7 separate regions of the Homo sapiens genome follow, and regions 2, 3, 4, 5, 6 and 7 are each linked to region 1. The links are contacts of gene promoters, found by promoter capture Hi-C in blood cells and fetal thymus (Javierre and others, 2016). All regions are on one chromosome and are shown on one strand. Each heading gives the region's core, a stretch centred on a gene start or on the middle of the fragment in contact. The rest is flanking DNA. Distances are from core to core; before and after follow the strand shown. Region 1 holds the start of NXPH2 (neurexophilin 2). Region 2 overlaps HNMT (histamine N-methyltransferase). Region 3 overlaps LOC101928273 (a long non-coding RNA gene). Region 4 overlaps LOC107985948 (a long non-coding RNA gene). Region 5 has its middle 9.5 kb from the start of HNMT. Region 6 has its middle 130 kb from the start of HNMT. Region 7 has its middle 27 kb from the start of HNMT.

What was found. Contacts are between HindIII fragments. The CHiCAGO score rates a contact against its expected background, and 5 or more counts as called.
Region 2: a contact is called between a fragment that was not itself captured here and the fragment with the promoter of NXPH2 in region 1, in 2 of 17 cell types (total CD4 T cells and naive CD8 T cells). The highest score is 5.4, in total CD4 T cells.
Region 3: a contact is called between a fragment that was not itself captured here and the fragment with the promoter of NXPH2 in region 1, in 2 of 17 cell types (naive CD8 T cells and total B cells). The highest score is 5.2, in naive CD8 T cells.
Region 4: a fragment that was not itself captured here is called in contact with the fragment with the promoter of NXPH2 in region 1 in 2 of 17 cell types (naive B cells and total B cells); the score reaches 5.6 in naive B cells.
Region 5: a contact is called between a fragment that was not itself captured here and the fragment with the promoter of NXPH2 in region 1, in 8 of 17 cell types (total B cells, naive CD8 T cells, naive B cells and 5 more). The highest score is 13.0, in total B cells.
Region 6: a contact is called between a fragment that was not itself captured here and the fragment with the promoter of NXPH2 in region 1, in 1 of 17 cell types (naive CD8 T cells). The highest score is 5.4, in naive CD8 T cells.
Region 7: a fragment that was not itself captured here is called in contact with the fragment with the promoter of NXPH2 in region 1 in 2 of 17 cell types (total B cells and megakaryocytes); the score reaches 7.6 in total B cells.

The regions. Positions count from the first base shown.
Region 1 is chr2:138,779,044-138,781,763 of GRCh38, forward strand. NXPH2 (neurexophilin 2) reads right to left here and starts at 1,347. Exons shown (of 2, transcript NM_007226.3): 1 at 1,148-1,347. The coding sequence starts at 1,198. The HindIII fragment of the contact is 12,898 bases long and covers 1-2,720 here.
Region 2 is chr2:137,974,272-137,977,229 of GRCh38, forward strand. The region is part of intron 2 of HNMT (histamine N-methyltransferase); the gene reads left to right. Among named protein-coding and RNA genes, the nearest start is that of HNMT, 11 kb to the left of the region's middle. The HindIII fragment of the contact is 300 bases long and covers 1,372-1,671 here.
Region 3 is chr2:137,880,895-137,883,665 of GRCh38, forward strand. All of the region lies in intron 2 of LOC101928273 (a long non-coding RNA gene), which reads right to left. Among named protein-coding and RNA genes, the nearest start is that of HNMT, 82 kb to the right of the region's middle. The HindIII fragment of the contact is 9,603 bases long and covers 1-2,771 here.
Region 4 is chr2:138,017,953-138,020,653 of GRCh38, forward strand. All of the region lies in intron 2 of LOC107985948 (a long non-coding RNA gene), which reads right to left. Among named protein-coding and RNA genes, the nearest start is that of HNMT, 55 kb to the left of the region's middle. The HindIII fragment of the contact is 1,377 bases long and covers 682-2,058 here.
Region 5 is chr2:137,953,603-137,956,311 of GRCh38, forward strand. No RefSeq gene overlaps it. Among named protein-coding and RNA genes, the nearest start is that of HNMT, 9.5 kb to the right of the region's middle. The HindIII fragment of the contact is 4,517 bases long and covers 1-2,709 here.
Region 6 is chr2:137,835,862-137,838,572 of GRCh38, forward strand. No RefSeq gene overlaps it. Among named protein-coding and RNA genes, the nearest start is that of HNMT, 130 kb to the right of the region's middle. The HindIII fragment of the contact is 1,894 bases long and covers 399-2,292 here.
Region 7 is chr2:137,936,073-137,939,057 of GRCh38, forward strand. No RefSeq gene overlaps it. Among named protein-coding and RNA genes, the nearest start is that of HNMT, 27 kb to the right of the region's middle. The HindIII fragment of the contact is 1,837 bases long and covers 379-2,215 here.

The DNA.
Region 1 (2,720 bases), core at 97-2,596:
CATATCATAAACTTTCAAAGTTACTTGATTTTCCCCCTAATAGGAAAAGAAAGAGACAAAGAGAACGAGAGAGAGAGCGAGCGAGAGAGAAGAGACTGTCATCTTCTAAGTGCTTGGGCAAAGTCTTAAGTATGAGGACCAAAGAAACTATGGCATCAGGAGAAAGCCCTCTTAATAGCACCCTAACAAGGCAAGAGCTAAGTGACCAGAAGAAATCCATCACAGATGCTGACCCAGCCAAAGCACTCCCCTTCTGTAATTTTACTTTAAAAGTTTCTTCTTGAAGATCTTACTTTGGTTTTCCCTCAACTATAATTAGCCATGCATATAGAACATAGGCGTATATCAGGAGGAGGAGAGCGTGGCGCCTCGCGGGAAGAGAGAAGAGAGTGACAACGCGAACCCCAAACCACATTTTAATACGTTTCTTATTCCTCAGCGCCTCCGAGCCACCCAGACCAGGCGGGCGGTCTCCCTGAAAAGACAGCTTCGAGATGCCCGAGAGGGGGCTCCTGCGCGGAGCTGGGCATGAAAGTTATATCTTGTGTCCCCAGCTGGCAGAAAGCCCCATCCCAGTCCCTAGCGCCAGACGGAAAACGAAGAGAAATCCAAGCTGTCCCCCAAATCCGTATTTTGCCTAAGTTTTCTCCCAGCAAGGCGCCACTACCTGGCTCTGAGAACGAGGATGCATGCACTATGCTGTGCTTTGGGAGAAGTGTCTGTGTGCATCTGGGCAAAACACCACGTGAAAAATAAACACCACCAAGCCTCTCAAACTGTGAACAGGAGGAAGGTCTTTCTGCCCCTTCTCATCCTATCAATTTACTTTCCTTCCTCTCCTTGACCGCTTATCAATAAACCGCTTCCTTCTCCCGGACCTACTTCCCGGCCACCTTCTGCCTACTTTACCCCAGCGCTCAAGTCCCAACCCGTGCTAAGCCCCTGAGTCGCCTGTAGATCCCGTCTATTCCGTTCTTCAATTCTTCCCTTTCGACCTCTAAGGCAACCCAAAACTCCTTGCCCTCCGCGCGCCCCCAACCCCACTTCCCAAGCAGGCCCAGGCTGGGCTCCAAGTCAGCCGCCTGCGCGGTTTTCCCGCCGAAACGCGTCCCCGGCGTGTGGGACGGCGCGCGGGCCGGGCACTCACCAGCTGCAGCAAGCCAGGGACCACCACGAGGGGCAGCGGCCGCAGGCGCATGGTGCCGGCTGGCGCGGCTTTTCACGAGCTGCGCGCCCTCGCCTGCCTCTCGCGCATCTCCACTTCGCGGGGCAGGACTGAGGACGCCAGGGACACAGCGCGGCGCTTCCCTCCCGGAATCCGAGCGCTGCGCCGTGCCGCGCAGCTCTGGCCGGGTGGGCGGGCAGGGAAGGGGGAGGGTGGGCGGACCGGAGGTGCCTCTCCCGGCCCCCCGCGCGCCCCTCCTCGGAGGGGGCCGGCAAAGAGCCTGCGGGGCAGCTCGAGCTCCGGCACGCGGCGGGGGGCTTCAGTCGCGCCTTGGACTCTCCCGCTTGGCCGGGCTTGGGGTGAGCGCGTGGGGCGCCTGCGGGAGGGAGGCGGCGGCTCGGGCGCTTGGGTGATGGGTTCAGTGCGAGGCTGCCCTCCAGATCCGATCCCGCCGGGCGGATGCCTGGCCGAGCTGAGCACGCCTGGCCAGCCGGTGCCCCAGAGCCCCGAGAGGCCGGGTGCCTCCTCCCACCCCCGCCCAGCAGAAGGCCGGTCCGAGAGGCTCCACTGTGCCAAGCGCCCTGCCAACTGACTGGCTCTCGCTTTGGCTGGGGAGATTGGGGATGAGGGGAAGAAAAGGTTCTCCCTGGGTGGCTGCAAGAAAGAGTGCGCCCGCCTGGAGAGCGCCCAGAGAGTTTAGGAGGGGAAGGCGATTGCAGAGTCCTGGGGCGGGGCGTGGGGAGCTGCGAACGGAAAAGGCTGGGGCGGGGAGGTGAGGCTGGAGCCCAGGACGCCCTGGGAGAGTGCCCTACTCTGCCGCAGCGCCAAGCTCGCAGAGCCGCGGGTAAGGGGTACAAAGTGCGCCTGGTGCGGCTGGAAGGATTTCTGGGGTTGGGGAGTAATGGGGACCTCGAGGGACCAGGAGCAGAACTGTGAGAAACGGAGCTAGGTGATGTCTGGTTTACTCCGGTTTGGGGATGGTATAGACAGCTAGGTGTCCTGAAGACAGACAAAGTTGCTCCCAGACCTTCTGCCCGGGCTTTGGAGAAGCAGAATAAAGGCAGGATACCCCACCACAGCCTCCGACTTCAGAAATATTGGAGAGGGGTATCTTTGCGGACGGGCGAAGGTGCAAACCTGATGCCTGTGAGCCTCGACCTCCGTGTTAACAACTCGCCATTGGAGAGATCCTTAACCTTTTACTATCTTTGTGCTGGACACTCGAGTGGAAAAATCAAAGGCAATGGGGCTCACAGACCTGCACTGTTTTTACGGTAGATCAGAGTTTGGGCGTCATTCGTCACTCCTTTATTGAACAGGTGGGAAACCTAAGGTCCAGAGAGATACATTCACTTCTCCAAGGATGAGACTTTAGGCAGTTGCTCCGACAGAATACCCAAGGCGAGAATGCTTCTTACATCTAGAAACGCAAAGCTCTTAGAGAAGAAAACCATGTTGAAGCAAGGGAGTAGAATTGCAATTGATTTCTAGGCTTTAAAAAATAAACCCAACAAAAAGCACAGATTAAGTTGTAATTTTTGGACAAAAAAAAAAA
Region 2 (2,958 bases), core at 272-2,771, 800 kb before region 1:
GGGTCTTGAAGTATTCATGTTGTTAATTTCTGCAATTGTTTTTAGGTTTTGAGAGTAATGCATATATTCTAAATCTCATAGAACATGCTTCTGGGTCCATCAACATTGGTGCTTCCTTAAATTAAACCTCTTGATGGGGGTTTTCATTATTATTCAACCTCTAATGAGTGTTGTCTTCATGCTAGATGGTACGTGGGAAAAAAGAAACCCATATTCTTTTTGGTAAGAGAGAATGCTATTAATTTACAGTGCATATATTTATACCTGAAAACATGTTCCAGAAAGCAGTCACGGCCAATGTGTTCTCCTTGCTCTGGGCTCTGCTTAAAGGATAATCATTTTATCTGTCCCAGTGTTTGGTTCTTATGTTCAAATGCCAGAAAGTTTTTTAAGAGTTAGACAGAGCTGTAACTCAAATAATCACATTTAATCCAGCTTCCTACTTCTATTTTCATTAACCTATTGTATATTAACTCAACCACTATACCATTGCTATACCAATAATTGTATATACATTTATAGATAAATTTTTTAACCCACTCAAGCAACTCATATATGAAATACAGGTGTTATCAACCCTCATAATATTTTTTGTAATAATTTTTCTGACATATGTTGAGACCAGTTTGATGGGTCTCCTGTTCTGCAGCATATAGACACCAGCATTTCTACAGAGGTTAAAACCTAGAAGAAAATTTACAGACCATCAACACTCTCACTTCACAAATAAGAAACCTGGGGACCATCAAGGCAGAAGAAAACCCAGATCTCTTGACTTTAGTCCAGTCCAACAAATTGTACTAAACAGATTTAATAGTTAATTCTTAACCTGGTAAGGGAGAAAGTGTCTGAGACAGCTCTCAATCAATTTAGAGGTTTATTTTACCAAGGTTGAGGATGCAACTGAGAAAAAGAGACCTAGGTTGCAGTAGCATCTGTGATCTGTGCTTTTTCCAAAGAGGTGTTTGAAGGCTTCAATATTTAAAGGGGGAAGAGCAGCAGGAGAGAAGGAGGAAAGAAAAAAATAGGGAGGGTAGGGAGTAAGGTAAGTGGTCACTTTCTTGTGAGGGTTTGATCAGTACTCACTGAATCCACATGTTATATGTAAAAGGAGGGGGGCCACATGGAGAAATAGTGGCCTTCTGTCATTGCACCTATCTGTTTAGGTACAAAAGGGAAGGCAGTTTTTGTGTGACCCAGTTCTCAAGTGTAACTCTTCCTTTTAACATAGTGAGTTTGGAGTCCCAGGATTTTATTTTCCTTTCACAGGAGAGATTAGGTACTTAGCAATGACTAGCTATTTGAAAATCTAACCTTATCAGATTATTAACCTTGTCTCCTTTCATAAATAACATGTTAAGGTAACACAGAAGCTTAATACTTTAAGCTGATTGGATGGCAGTAGAATGAATGTAATTCAAGTAGGAACTGGAAGATCCAGTGTGTCAGGTTTAGAAACTAGGAGGTGGCAGGAAGCAAAGGTTAATGTTTACCAATGATCCATAGTAAGCCAACAGTACAGATCAACAAACTTAAAATGTGTGAGAAAATACAGGGAATTGAGGTATTTTTTGCTTGGAAAAAAGAATTTGATTGTGCTTATTGCCATTTTCGTATATTTTCTGATGGGCAAACAATAGAATATTTGCCCTCAAAGCGCCAATGGTTGAAAGCTTCAGAGAGTGATTTCTTGGCTCAGTGTAAGAGCCTGTTGGCTGGGCCTGGTGGCTCACGCCTGTAATCCCAGTACTTTGGGAGGCCAACTGGGGCCGATCACCTGAGGTCAGGAGTTTGAGACCAGCCTGGCCAACATAGTGAAACCCGGCTTTTCTAAAAACACAAAAATTAGCTGGGCATGGTGGCACACACCTGCAATCCCAGCTACTCGGGAGGCTGATGCAGGAGAATCTCTTGAACCTGGGAGGAGGAGGTTGCAGTGAGCCGAGATCGGGCCATTGCACTCCAGCCTGGGGGACAGAGCAAGACTCCATCTCAAAAAAACAAAAAACAAAAAAAAAAAAACCTGTCTATAAATAGAAAATAACTTCCACTCCTTGGGAGATAAAAAGTCATTCTAGTGGTGTCAGCACAGGTTGGAGAAATACTTTACAGATATGTTATGGAAGGGACTTAGGCACTGATTTTCTTGTGTGTTTGGGCCATCAAACGTGCTTTCAGTCTTGAAATCTTGTTTTATGAGTCACCTTCTAGAAAAGAGGTAGGAATATTTTTCGGAGTAGTGTGGCTATTACCATGTTTGCTGTATTGAGGAAGCGGTATTCTAATGGGGTTTCTAGACCTGCAGACAACTTTGGGAATGGATTTTAATTGCTTATAACTAAAAATGAGTAAAAACTAGTACTTATATGCAGCATCATAGCAGTTAACTCCTTTACCAGAAGGATATAGATTATAATCATAAACTAATCTACAAGATTTAGAACTACTTTACATAAACACAGTTATAGTTTGGGGCATCATTTTATTAAAGGCATTTGTTAAATATATGATTAAAAAATAAAGTATTCTTCATAAATAATTTTACCAAAATAGCTTACCCCATTGTATTGTATTTAAAACTTTCAGTGAGCATTGAGCTATTGTTAAAGACAGATAAGTTACAGATTCAAGAGAAGGGAGCATAGTGTTAGAACACTGGAGTGATTGTCATTAAAAGCAGAGTAAACAAGATTGTTTTGGCTAATTCAATAAGGTTAGAAACAGCAAAACAAGGGATAATGAACCAAGTGAGGACAAAACTATCATTGCAGATTAAATGACTGTATACTTACAAAAGCAAATAAACTTAGTTCTAAAGCCTTATAATTAATAAGAATGCAGCAATGGGCTTAAACAGGTAAAATAGAAAAAAAGCAGTATGTTAGGTTCTTATTTTGTTTTGTTGTTGTTAACGTTTGAGTGTTTTCCATTCCCAATTTTGATTATTTACAATCTACA
Region 3 (2,771 bases), core at 2-2,501, 900 kb before region 1:
CTGGAGAGCCTCGAATCAAGCCTGGGAGTGGGACGGGGAGCTGGAAATGAAGTTATTTTAGACTAGGTTGCACTTTTTTCCTTTTTTTTGCAAACATACAATGCATAAGTCAAGAATTCTAAATGTACAGCTGGATGACTTTTTTCTTATCTCCACCCATGTAAACCCTAGCCAGAACTTCTCAGGAAACAAACAATAACCTGACTTCTATCACTTTAGATGGCTAACTCTTCTTGAGCTCTCCATAAACGGAATTATGCATTATGAAATCTTTTGTGGCTGGCTTCTTTCCCCCTACATTATGTCTGTGGGTGTCATGCTGAGGGTCGTGTGGTCGGCAGTGTATTTTTACTGCTGTATAGCTCCCCGTGGTGGGAATGTATCACCACTGGCTTATCCATTCCATTAGTGATGGATGGATTGTTTTTAGGCTTTGACTATTAGGGATTAAACTACTATGAACATATTTGTATGTGTGCTTCTCACGGGTAAAGTGCATAGGAGTGGACTTGCTGGGTCACAGAAGACCACATTGAACATTCGTAATGTAGGGAAAGGCAGTCTCATACTCACCCCCACTCAGCTACGTAAGAATGGGCTTGGGCCTGGAACACTTCCTTATCAAGAGATAGAGTCCTCGCAGCTTGACCTGGGCTTGTCACCTTGTGTGGGACTATCTTTCCCTGCTTCTGAGTCAGTGTGTGCACTCCTTTGTTCTGATTAAGTGAATGTATGAATGGTTCTCCCCAGCTTTTCGTATTTCAGATCCCACAGCTGCGGGAGGGAATGGGAAAGGTGGGTTTTGGGGAGGGGATTCTTTTACTGCAGCATAAAGTGGGATGCCTGCAGCCATACTGCCCACCTTGGCTTTGGAGTGGATCTGCTGCCTATGGGGGACTGGCACGTTTCAAGGGACTGGATCTTGTAAACACTCTCTCTCTCATTTTGGTGTAAGTAAACACTGTACCACTTGAGCCTGCTAGGCGTCTTGTCTGCTCTCAGTGACCTCAAATCATGCACTGGTCTCTCCCCTGGGCGGCGCTTCTTCCCCTGTTAACCTTGACCACATTTGACCACATTCTTGTGATAGTCTATCCTGCAGCACAACCTGACCACCCAGTGAACACTGAAACAAGTAGATCCTGCTAAACAATTTTCCTAGGTTCATGTAAAACTTTATACTGTAGTCAGCAGTGTATGAGAGTTCCAGGTGCTCCACTTCCTCACATATTAAATTTTACATTGAATAGTCTTTTAAGTTTGAGTCATTGTGTAGTGGTGTCTCATTGCATTTCCCCAATAAGTAATGATGTCGTATTGACCGTGTGTGTGTGTGTGTGAGTGTGTGTGTGTGAAGTTCCTTTTCTAGTCTTTTGACCACTTTGACCATTTTTATTGAGGAGCTTCTTTTTATATATTCAGGACACAAATCCTTAGTTATATATATAGTAATTTTCCCCAGTGTGTGCTTGAGATTTTCACTCTCTAAATGGGTGTCTTTTGATGAGCAGAAATTGTGAATTTTAGGAAAGTTTAATTTATCAATTATAGTTATAGTTGTGTACAGTTTGGAAAATCGTTGCCTATCCCAATGTTATAAAAATAATGTCCTATGTTCTCTTTTAAGAGGCTACATGATTTTACATTTCTCACCAAGGTCTCAGATCTAGTTGATGTGATTTTTGCAAATCACAGACTCGCTTTTGTATAGGGTATGAGGAGGGGTCAAAATAAATTTTTCCTCATAGATATCCAGTTGATCCAGCACCTTTTATTGAAAAGGCCATTCTACACACTAAATTGTAGTAGTTCTTTTGTCAAAAATCAGGTGACTATATATAGAAACGTCTGTTTCTGATCTGTTTTCTGTTTTATTATTCTGTGTGTCCATGCTTGTTCTAACACCTTACTGTTTGATGTACTTTAGCTTTATAGTAAGTTTTGATATTTAATCATGTAAATCCTCAAACTTTGTTCTCTTTCAAAGTTATCTTGGCTATTAAATTCTTGGTATTTCCAAATATAGTTTTAAAACAGTGTCAGATAATGCTGCTTTTGTATTACTTAAAGGTGAAATACTCAGTACCTGAACACAATGACAAATTCTATGATCTGAAACTAACCTCTGGGTGTGGGAATTTGAAAGTTAGTGGATAAAGAGAGTAGCTATGTTTTCTGCTTTCATCTCACTAAATCTAGTTTATTTAACAATCAGATTGCAATAACATAATAAATTCTATAGTAAGATTGTATATAATTAGCTATATATTGGAAGAGGAGGAAAAAGTTATAACTGTGAGTGCTGATGAAGCTAACATTTTACATGCATTTTGAAGTGTGAATAAACATTAAACAGGAAGAAAGGGCAGGAAAAGAAATGTACTTATTTCATGGAATAAGATGTAAGAGATGTGAAAGAAAAATATGAGAAATGTAATCAGTAATGCTTTAAAAAAAAGAAAGTAGGGAAGCCGTTAATCTACCGTGGCTGTTACATTGATGTTCAAAATGAGAACTAAAGCCATATTCAACTGCAGCCTCCCACACTTTTATCATACTTTTCTTATATCTGTTCGTTCTTTCTTTCTTCTTTTTTTTCGGAGTCTCGCTCTGTCACCCAGGCTGGAGTGCAGTGGCACGATCTCGGCTCACTACAACCTGCACCTCCCGGGGTCAAGCGATTCTCCTGCCTCAGCCTCCTGAGTAGCTGGGATTACAGGCACGTGCCACCGTGCCCAGCTGATTTTTTGTATTTTTAGTAGAGATGGGGT
Region 4 (2,701 bases), core at 120-2,619, 760 kb before region 1:
TGCCACTGTGGGCCACATGTGGGAGGACCTCACTGGGATGCCATGGTTTGAAGGTGAGGCATGGAACCAACTTGCAGAGAGAATGAGAGATGCCAGGAGTCTAAGACCACATGGCCTTTGAATGGGAGATGAGCTTTGGCTGTCTCAAGGAAGGGTTCTTGCAGTTTCTATTCCCATCTGTGTCTAACCTGAACAAATACCATTTTACTCCAGGTATCCTTGTGGGTGTCTGCTTCTTGCCTCCCAAATGTCTTAGGTAGAGCAAAATAGAAGATCTTATTTGGTTGTTACCTCATGAATTAGAAAGATTATTTATTATTATCCTATTTCATAGGTGAGGAAACTGAGATACTAATACACTGAATAATTTAACCCAGCTCCCAAAGCAAGTTGATAACAGGAAGTTAGCCAAACCCTATACCTGCCCGGCCGACTCACACTGTATGTCTGCATATTGGGCAAGTTAAATATGTGATCTTCATTCATCTTAGATGCGGAGTATGACTTCATAGAACTAAATCACCTTTGCCCCCAAATATCCACTTGTACATTGAAGGGGACCTGATTATAAAAGGGAAGAAGAAGCAATCAGAGGATCAGAGTACTATGAAAAAATCACCTCCTTGAATAATGAGATAGTACTCTTTCTAAATACTACACTTCAGTAACAAGTTCATTTTAAGCTTGTCATAAATATCTGATTTTTCCATCCCATTGCCTTAACTTTTGCCTGTATTTCTCTGCCTCACCTCCTACCAGGTCCCAGACATCACCAATTTCATGTTTAAATTATCTGTCATTCATACCCTAGCTCCCCTATGATTCATAAACTGTGCAATACACATCCATAGTACATGATCAACTAATGCAGGATAGTTAAAGCTAAGGATCATGTAATCCATTTCTCAGTGTGATATACACCATAAAAAGGCAACTGCAGTAAAAGGGGGGTTGATTTAAGGGCTCCCTGGGTAACGACAGTCACAATTTCTAAATGTGCCAAAAATTAATTAGGGCTCTGAGTCAGATTGTAGTAATCTCTGTGGCAATGGATTAATAAATACAGCAAGACGCCGTTCTGGAGGCTGCACTGACACATGGGGATACTCTGTATAAGCAGTGCCTTTCCATGATCATATTCTTCTCTTGAAGAATTATCTGTGTTTCCTGGCTTGTCTTAATGATACTTGAAGGACTTTGCAAACAACCTGCTTAGGATAGAAAATGTTGAAATAAATCACAGGGGCCATGAGGTATAGTCCAACCTTGGTGAGTTCTCCAAAGACATTTGCTATAGAAGATGCAGAAAAGTGTCAGTACCTTTATTTATGTTCTACAGCTAACTAATTTCATGCTAATTTCATTTCTATACTGTGATTCCTTTTTCTGCATGTGTTGATATATGGGTTTCATGAGTTAATTCTCTGGTTTTCAATGCAGGCAGACTGGACATAAATCCCAGGGTTTTGTAGAAGAGGCAGTTGCTCCATGCTGCTTATTATCAGCAGGAGCACATTGCAGCCTTAGCTTATTTATCAAGATATTGCTGCCTCATGCCACACATTTCCCAACAGACTTCATCTACCCCACAATAGCCTTTAATGGAAGGTGCATTACCCTCCTTGTGGTTTGTTTATAATTACTTTTATTTCTCCAGGACTGATTGGGAGAGGAGTTTGGACTTATTCTTCATTGTATAAGTTACCCAGGCAAGGAAATTAGCCAGGGCTTACTGCTCCAGTAGAAGCCTCATGGGATGGATATGTTTGGGCAAGGTTGGCAACTTATGAGTTTCCCATCTGTGTGTCCTAGGAATGGTGGAGCAAAAACTGGCTCTTCAGCTTGGCTGCTTCCCTCTGTTTTCTTTGGCCATTCTAATTCATAGTTTCCAGCTTGAAAAAGAGTTAATCATGGAGGAAGATTCTTTGCTAAATAAAACAGACCATAAGGGATTTAAAAGACCCCATTTTAATAATAGTTAACATTTCTTGAGGGCTTATTACGTGTTGTGCTCATGTTAAGTGTTTATAGGCATTATACAACCTAATCCTCATAACAAGCTTATGAGTGAGTTAGTTACAATTTCTATTCCAATTTCACAAAGAAGGAAACTGAGGTTTAAATTATATATTAAATTATATAATGTGTACCTCATTCTTACATCTGGTGGAGCCAGAATTCTAATACACACGAATTAACCCCAGGGACCATGTTCATAACCACTACATCTTGCTGTCTTTAATAATGTTGACCTTCATTGCCTCTCTGTCCCTTTTCTTCCTCTTTAAGTTTCATATAGGAATTATCTCCTAGCTTCTTAATTTTTATCCTATTTCCCAGGGACGGATCTCACCTGGTGACTCTAGCATAAAGATAGTACCTGTTTGACTTGATCAACTTTGGCCCAAAATATATTATCTTCAAGAGGCAAAATATATTATCTTCAAGAGGCAAAATACATTATCTTCAAGAGGCTACTCCTGTATGATTGTGGCTTGGTCTCTTGGGCAAGAGAGAACAATCCCAGTAAACTGATCCATTATTTTGACCTTGTATAAACATATCCTCAGTTACTGAGCATCTGATAACAAAAGCCTTTTTAACAGCAATATTGAGCCCAGTGTGGCTCCAGCTGGACAGAGTCATTAGGTGAGGTGGCAGAGACTAGCCCCCTCTGCCTTCCTTCTATGGTAATAGAGTG
Region 5 (2,709 bases), core at 114-2,613, 830 kb before region 1:
TCCTCTATTCATGGGGATCTTGCTTTGAATTCTAATTTCAAGTTGAGTTTTCATACATAATTTTGGCTCATTCCAAATTTACTGAAATTATTTTCTTGAATATCATCAATATCTACTTTCGGCTCACATTTTCACTATGGAAGTCTCCCTGGATATGGCTATTAAGAAGTTTGAGCTATATCTCCTTTCAATACTGGATTGCAGTTAGTATTTTAAAACAAATTAAACAAAACGAATTCCCCAAACAAATTCAATTCCAATATGCATTAATTTCCTATCCTGACTAGAGATAAAAAGGTGATAAAAATGAAACTTAGAAAAATGATTCTAGCAGCAATATTATGAAAAACATGAGCTTTTCACTGTTTATCTGACTAGTAAAAGACCAAATATGTACTGTGAAAAGTTTTAATCAACTTTGACATTTTGTTCCTGGTCCAAACTGAGGGTCGGGCAGCTATCCCTTGCGCGCCAATAACAAGATGCAGATGAATTGGGGAGAAACAGAGTTTTTATTTCTGTAACCAGTCACAGGGAGAAGGCCTGGATCACCAGACCAACTCAAAATTACAAAGTTTTTCAGAGCTTATATACCTTCTAAGCTATATGTCTACATGTAAGTGTGCATTCATCTAATGTTGTAAGTGAATAACTTCTTTTAATCCGTAACTAAGGCCTAAGTCCTGAAGACCTTCCTCTGGAGCCTCAGTAAATTTACTTCATGTAAATGGGTCCAGGTGCTGGGGTGATTACCCTTATCTTGTCTCCTGCTAAATCATGGAGGTTTGGGGAGTTCCCACAGACCTCCAATAAACTTGTTTGTGGAGGCCTGGGGAGTTGCTTCAGACCCACAGTAAAACTTGTTTAATCCTGAATAGGTTCTGTTAAGAGTTCCTTTGTTATTTTGTCATGTTTTAAGGCCCAGGAAAGGCCTAAGCAAAACTCTTGGTGGGCATTTGTTACATTCCAGCCTTTATATAAGGGTACTGACTTTTAATATTTAACTTAACCACTCAGTCAGTACTGAAACAGTTGTTATGGAGGCCTGCATTAGTGAGACCTGGCCTGTCACAATTTCAACCAGCATTTCATTAGGCACCATAACTAGAAACACAGTATAAAACAGAACATACACTTGTGAGAGGCAAAAATCACTGTACTTTTAAAAATTGTCTTTACTTCCTTTTTTGTTTGTTTTAGTAGTATGGAGTTTTGGAGACAAGATCATCTACAGATCAATTCAGAATTATCAAATAGCAAATTTTCAAAAATTATTGAGTTAATCTCCATAAACCTTCACCATCTTTGACCCAATCTGCATTTCACTGCTGCTAGAACTGGACCAGTGGAAGTATTAATTTGGAGTAGTAGAGCAGAGAGTCTTTAAATACACTTTTGGGAACATTATGCCTCTGTTTTTAACCATGTGTTTATTAACTACAAATTTCAGTTGATGGCACAAAATGTGTGCCAAATTGATAACTCTGGAATGTATTTTACCAGAGATCATCTCTGAGCTACTTGAGCTGACTGACACCCCATGTATAATGTCTGATTATACAACATCCTGGGAGCTACTTCTTCTATAGGCATTGACTATATTTAAAAACAACTGCTTTGGGAGGCCGACGCAGGAGGATTGCTTGAGGCCAGGAGTTCAAGACCAGACTGGGCAACAGAGTGAGACTTCCCAATGCTACAAAAAAAAAAAAAAAAAAAACTTAAAGTAGCCAGGCATGGTGTCTTATGCCTGTAGTCCTAGATACTTGGGAGGCTTAGGCAAGGGGATTGCTTGAGCCCAGGAGTTCAAGGCTGCAGTGTGTGGTGATTGTGCCACTGTACTCCAGCCTGGGTGACTGAGTGAGACCCTGTCTTTAAAGACAACAACAACAACAACAACAACTCTTAGAGTCCTATGTAGGAAATAATAAAATAAACATTGAATTCATATGCATTTTGTTTTTAATTAGCCATATTTATAAACAGACTTTAATTATTTTCTACTGCCTGAGAACATATGGGTAATTACTTTGATCCCCTTATGTTTTCCAAATTGTTAGTGCATCACAATGGTATAATCTATGCTTAGAAATGCAAAGTAGCTTTGAATTTGTATTAGGGAAGGAGGAGCACCAAAGAGTCAGAGAATGAGACACATCGAGTGCCAAATGTCTTACAAATGGCATCCTAATTCAAGCCTGAAATATGAGCCGTGTCTCTGATTAACAGGTGTAAACTCAAGTAGTCTTAGAATTTTAGAACTGGAAATGAATGATGGCATCTAGTTCTCTACATCTGAAGAAATTCAAGGCAACTGAATTAAGTGCTTGCTCAAAGTCACACAGGGAGTTAGTAAGCAGTGTAACATGGAGAGAAGCAGGAGCGGGAGTCGCCCATTAGTCCATCTTCTGACCCCCAGCGAGCACAGGAGGAGAAAGGGACAGACAGCTCTGAAATTCTCAGATCTGAAAAGGAATCCCATCATCATGGGACTCCTAATGACCTCCCATTATCAGGTGCCCGCTGATGAGTTTCCCAAAACCCTGATACATTCCCAAGAAATAGTTTTCAGCCAAATACCCTCATCAAACAAAGTCAGTCTTCTTTAAGAGTTCATGAGTACTAGCTCTCATTGACCTGTAGCTATCACAATAGACACCTTTTGTTTTCACTATTTTATCTGGCATTCAGTGAGTACTTAATACATTC
Region 6 (2,711 bases), core at 96-2,595, 940 kb before region 1:
TTTTCTTAGAATGTTTAAAACAGCTGTTCCCAACTAGTTGTGCTTCATTATTATATTTCCACCCATAAGTAGGTATATGTCCATACAAAACTCAATTTGGGAGATCAGAGCTTGCCTCTCTTACTGAGACATCTGATGCTTTTGAGGGAGGTGTCCATCTCAATGTTGCTTCTCATCCCAAGACTCACTCTCCCCAGTCCCAGCAATTCCATGTGATACATTGTCAATAGCTGTAACAAGGATAGTTACAATTTACGCTGCATTTAGTATCTGAAGTATGTGTCCTTGTTTTAAAGTAATGACTTTGATTTACTGCTTTCTGAATTCCCATAATAACTCTTTGACATATATTTAATCATCCTGATTTTATATTTTAAGAATTTCAGTTCAAGACTTTAAGCTTCTTTTCTAAAGTCGAATAGCCAGGAGATGGGGGACCTGGTGTCTGCTGTCTGTGATGTAGTCATTTCCGTGCTTGGTGTTGGTGTGATGCTTGGGTTTTACTACCAATTCCTTTTGTGGGTTTTTTTTTTTTTTTTCCTTGTGGGCACCTCCAGCACTGAGATTCTGCTTTTATGTCCTGCCTTTTATGGACTGCCGTTCACACACTACTCCAACTTGCAGAGTGCTCCTACAGCGTTGCCTATCTCAGAGGCAGGGCCACCTCATGTTTGGCTGGTCCCAAGGAAAGGATGCAAATGTAAGGCCCACATTCCACTTGTCTAAATATTTTAATTTATAAGCCAAGTTAACTAATCATTTAATTAAATATGTTTAATCCTCCTACCTTGACAAATATACAAAAAAGACCAGAGAGGCTACATTTCAGTTCAGAATGATCAAATTCCTCAGCCAGAACCTGGAGGTGCCAGAAGAGAAGGGTCCTGGAGCCCAGCAAGCCACCTGTCGGCTCCATTCTCTCCTGCGAAGGGCCTCACACATTCACCACCCCCAGCCTAGGAGTGTGCACAGTATAATGCTAGCCACCCCAGAGAGGGCAGGTCTAGAGAAAAAGCCTGTAGGGGACTTGGGGAAGGGCTGGGAGGCCATGTGGGTGAATAATTCTGGGATCTGGGCACCACCTGTATCACTGGCTGGGAGGGGAAGATGCTAATTCTGGGGACATGTTCCACTGGCCCCATGGGCACATCCTCGATGGCAAGGGGCCTCCAGAAATTAGTCCAGTGTGGGGTCTTAGATGGGTCTAAAGGCAATACTCTTTGGGGTTTCTCCAAACTTTGGCTTCTTTCATTGAAGACCATTGAAGTAATGAGGAACCTCTGGGTCAAACGCCAGACAAGTTGTCTTGCAGCAAGGCAAGCTGGTCTGCTAGAGCCAGTGCCCTACAACCCTACAACCCTTTAGAATTGTTTCCTTCCTAGTATCCAGTGCTTTTCTGTAGATATGAGCCATCCATTCACAGAGGCTGTGGTGTGAACATTCATTCTCTAAAATAGGACACCTTTCCCAGGATCTCATGTATTTTATTTTAAAAGAATCTGCAATTTAAACCAAAGGAATAAATTTGCTAATCATGGAATTTCTAGCACACTGGAAAAATACATGGGGACAGGAATTTTCTTGATATAAACCTGTACTAGTTTCCTAGAGTTACCATTTCAAAAGGCCACAAATTTGGTAGCTTAGCATGATAAGAATTTATAATATTTACTTAGAGTTGTGGCATACAGGATTCTGAAATTAGGGTGTTGGCAGAACCACGCACCTCCCAGAAGCTCTAGAGGGGAATCCTTCCCTGCCTCTTCAGGCTTCTGGCGGCTCGGGTGTTCCTGGGTTTGTGATCACGCCACTGCAATCTCTGCCCCTGTCTTCATATGGCCGAATCCTCTCTGTCACACATCTCCCTGTGCCTTTCTAAGGACACTGGCCATTGGATTTAGAACTCACCTGGATAATACAGGATGAGCTCATCTCAGGATTCTTAACTTCATTACGTCTTCAAATACCTTTTGTTTTCTTTTCTAAATTAGGTCACATTCACGGGTTCTATGTGGACATATTTTGGGAGGGCTTCCATTAACTCACTATGAAATTCTCATGCATTCATAAACTAAAGGCAGATGTAGGAAGAGGGAAGTGGTGAGCACTGGAGTCCCTGCTGTGACCTCCTGCCTGTGCGAAGGCCATGACTGTTAGTCCAACATTGCAGACCTCTCGAAACTTGGCAATGCTCCTCATAGGAGAGGAACTTCACGTGTCAAGGAGAGATGGGGAGGGGAGCAACTGCATTTGAGAACATGAAGAGAAGGTTATTGTGACACTTTGCAGGGAAGCTTTAGCCACATTGAAGCAGAGTAAAGAATAAATCTTCTCTCTTTACTTTTCAAGACCCATAATTTCCTCACAACCATACCTGGAGATTAGTTTAGGACCTAAAATCTAAATTGTATTATTTTTCCCTACCCAAAGGAGACACAGAGCTATTAATAATCGACTGCTTATTAAATCTTAAGTATTTTAATAATATTACTCCGTTTTACTTCATTTTTCTTTCCCTTGTAAGAAAAATAACATTCACACCCATTATATAAATGTGAACACTGAGGCCTTGTGATGTTAAGCAACTTGCCAGGATCTCATAGATAGGAATTAGAGGAGCTGAGACACATAGAGTCCATGCTCTTTCTAGCCCGGGAGTCCATCTAGAACAGTCCTGGCCCTCTAAGTTGACTGCCTTAACATGACTGAAT
Region 7 (2,985 bases), core at 47-2,546, 840 kb before region 1:
AAATGTTTGAAAAATTAGCTGGCTTAAATAAGTACTCTTATTTTTTAAATATCTGTTAATGAAGTATTAGTCAGCTTTTTTTTTTTTTTTTGTAATAATCTTGAGTGTTGACCCAAGGAATCTTTTGCACTAAGGCAGAGTTTTCATGTAAAAATCCAGCCTGGGCCGGGCACGGTGGCTCACGCCTGTAATCCCAGCACTTCGGGAGGCCAAGGGGGTCACATCACGAGTTCAGGAGATGGAGACCATCCTGGCTAACAAGGTGAAACCCCATCTCTACTAAAAATACAAAAAATTAGCCGGGCATGGTGGCAGGCGCCTGTAGTCCCAGCTACTCGGGAGACTGAGGCAGGAGAATGGCGCAAACCCGGGAGGTAAAGCTTGCAGTGAGCTGAGATTGCGCCACTGCACTCCAGCCTGGAAGACAGAGCAAGACTCCGTCTCAAAAAAAAAAAAAAAAAAAAAAAATCCAGCCTGTACATTTTGAGAAAAGGGATATCACACACTTGATTAGCTCTGCGCAGTCTTTGTATCAGAAATGTAAACACTAGCTGTTGTAAGACATAAAGCCTGACATCTCGGTGGCTTAATAAAAAAAAGGCATTTATTTTTCATCATGTAAAATTCAATCTGCAACAAGGATTGGGGCGAGAGTGGCATCTATGGTTGTTTTAGTCTGCTCAGGCTGCCATAACAAAATACCACAGACTGTTTGGCTTAAACAACAAAACATTTTAAAATCACAGTTCTGGAGGCTAGAAATTCAAGACTAAGATGTTGTCAGGGTTGTTGTCTAGTGAGGGCTCTTTTCCTTGCTCACAGATGGCCTCCTTCTCACTGTGCCCTCACATCTTCTTTCCTCTGTGCTCTCACTGCTAGGCTGGGGGAGAGAGAGCATGCTCTGGTCTTTCTTCTACTTATAAGGAGGAGAGAAGGGTACGTAGTCTTTCAGAGATCCAGGCTGAAAGAGGATCCACCATTTTCAGCACGGAGCTTCTAGGATCTCCCTGAGTGTCAATATTCAGCAGCAAGTGAAGAGAAAGAATTGTAGACATGAGGGTAAGTGGCCAAGGTCAGTAATCACTTCTGCCCACTTCCCACTGGCTGAATGCAGTTGCATTCTTCCTAACTGCAAGGGAGATTGGGAAAAGCTGTCTACAGTGTGGAAGGAAATAAATTTTGTGAATAACTAGCTATTGAATAGTCCTATTGAATCTTCCTCACAGTTGTTGGACCTCCTAGACATAAGAGGGAAAAAAAGTGCACCTTTTCTTAGCTCTTCCAGAGTGTTCTCTAGTGCATGCTACTTTCAAGTTCTTTCCCCAAACTTTTCTCACCTATGTTTGCCTATGGGGCTGTGACTCAGAAGTTCATGAGCAATGTGTTCCTATAAAGAAGAAGGAGTGTAGGGCCACCTTCGGCTTATGTTTTAGCTCTAGAGGATGAGGGAAGAGCCAACGTGTGCCAGTTTGAGGATGGATGTACAGTGAGTAGTGAGGGGCTTTTTCCACCTTGAACGCATGAGCGCTCTTGAGGCCCTCCCACTGTACATTCAGAGTCACCAGATTTGTGCATGATATCTCTGCACATACAAGAAAAGAGTTCCTGTGACTGCTCAATATTTTCTGTCTTGGTAAGAATGAAGAGCAAGAGAACTAAGGCCCTAGGAAAAGGCAATGGCAAAGAACAGATACGTGGCTTTCACCCCCGCCACTATCTTTCCAGAAAACCCCATGTAAACCTTGAGCACACTGCAAAGTCATGGTTTGGGCAGGTTTCTTTCTCTAGCAAGAAAGCCCCATGCCACCCTGCCAGTTCACTGGGGCCTCTCAGGCACCATTCTCAGCATGAGCTATTGGTTGGGTCAGGTATGTAGGGGAGCTGCTGGTGCCACTGAAGTCACGTGATAATTGTGGGCTCCTGGCCAGGAATCTGCTGATCTAGCTTGGGGACAGGGTGGGCAGGATGTGCCATTGATTCCCTTGTGAGAAATTCCTAAGAACCTACTCTCCATCTGCAGTTAATTCTCGCAGGACAATTAAGGGATTTTTTTTCTCTCTCTCTTCTCTAAAGCAAACAAATAAAGGTCCAATTATTTTTCCAGCAATCTGAGTTTAAGAGTCTAAAATTCTAATTTTTTGTTTCCTGGAAACAGTAAAATTCAATTGCCATTTGTTTTCTTCTTTAAAATCCCCTTTACCGCACTTTCAAAGTAAGCTTTTCTCATAGCCCTGAAGAGCCTTTGTCTTTAGGTTGTCAGTAAAAACAAGTTGATCCCTTTGACTCCGTTGGTTGAGATATGAGTGCACTGAAATGTGTCCCACAGCCATTGCCAAAGTTGTGGTTTTTCAATTTATGTTGGAGACAAAAGAGTCCAAGGAGAATTCCACTTGTGTAGGTTGCATAAGAGCCGACAAACAAAGCTGAACTGGATAAGAGTATAAAGAAAATAAGAGAAGCAAAATGTGTGATAGAGGCCACAGATACTGCTGTAGAGAGCGAGATGGTGACAAGGTGAAAAGGGGCTGCAAATTTATTAACTGGCTCAGTCCTTCCTGAGAGCTCTGCACCATATCTCCTCCAAACAGGTGCAGATTTTCTTTTAGTTTTATAAAGATTAGAGCAAGAAAGAAGCTGCTTTTAAAACAAGAAAAAAAAATCAGTTTCAGTGCACCATCTTGTATAATATTTTATCCTATTGTACCCTGTCATGGTTTAGGTATCACTGTATTCTCTCATTGTGTCATATATATATTAAGAGCTAAATAAATGTCTGTTTCATTGAATAGTTCAGCTCTGCTCTCACCTCTCCTAATTAAACCAACACCACATGCCACTTGCTACCTCCTGAACAATAATTATTTTTGTGTTTCTTCATTTCTCCAACAGCTCCAAAGGTGTAACATTCAGCTCTAACATTAACGCTGTTGCTTCTAGAGGCTCTGTACCCATCTCTCTGTTATGCCACACTGCCTTTAGACCTAC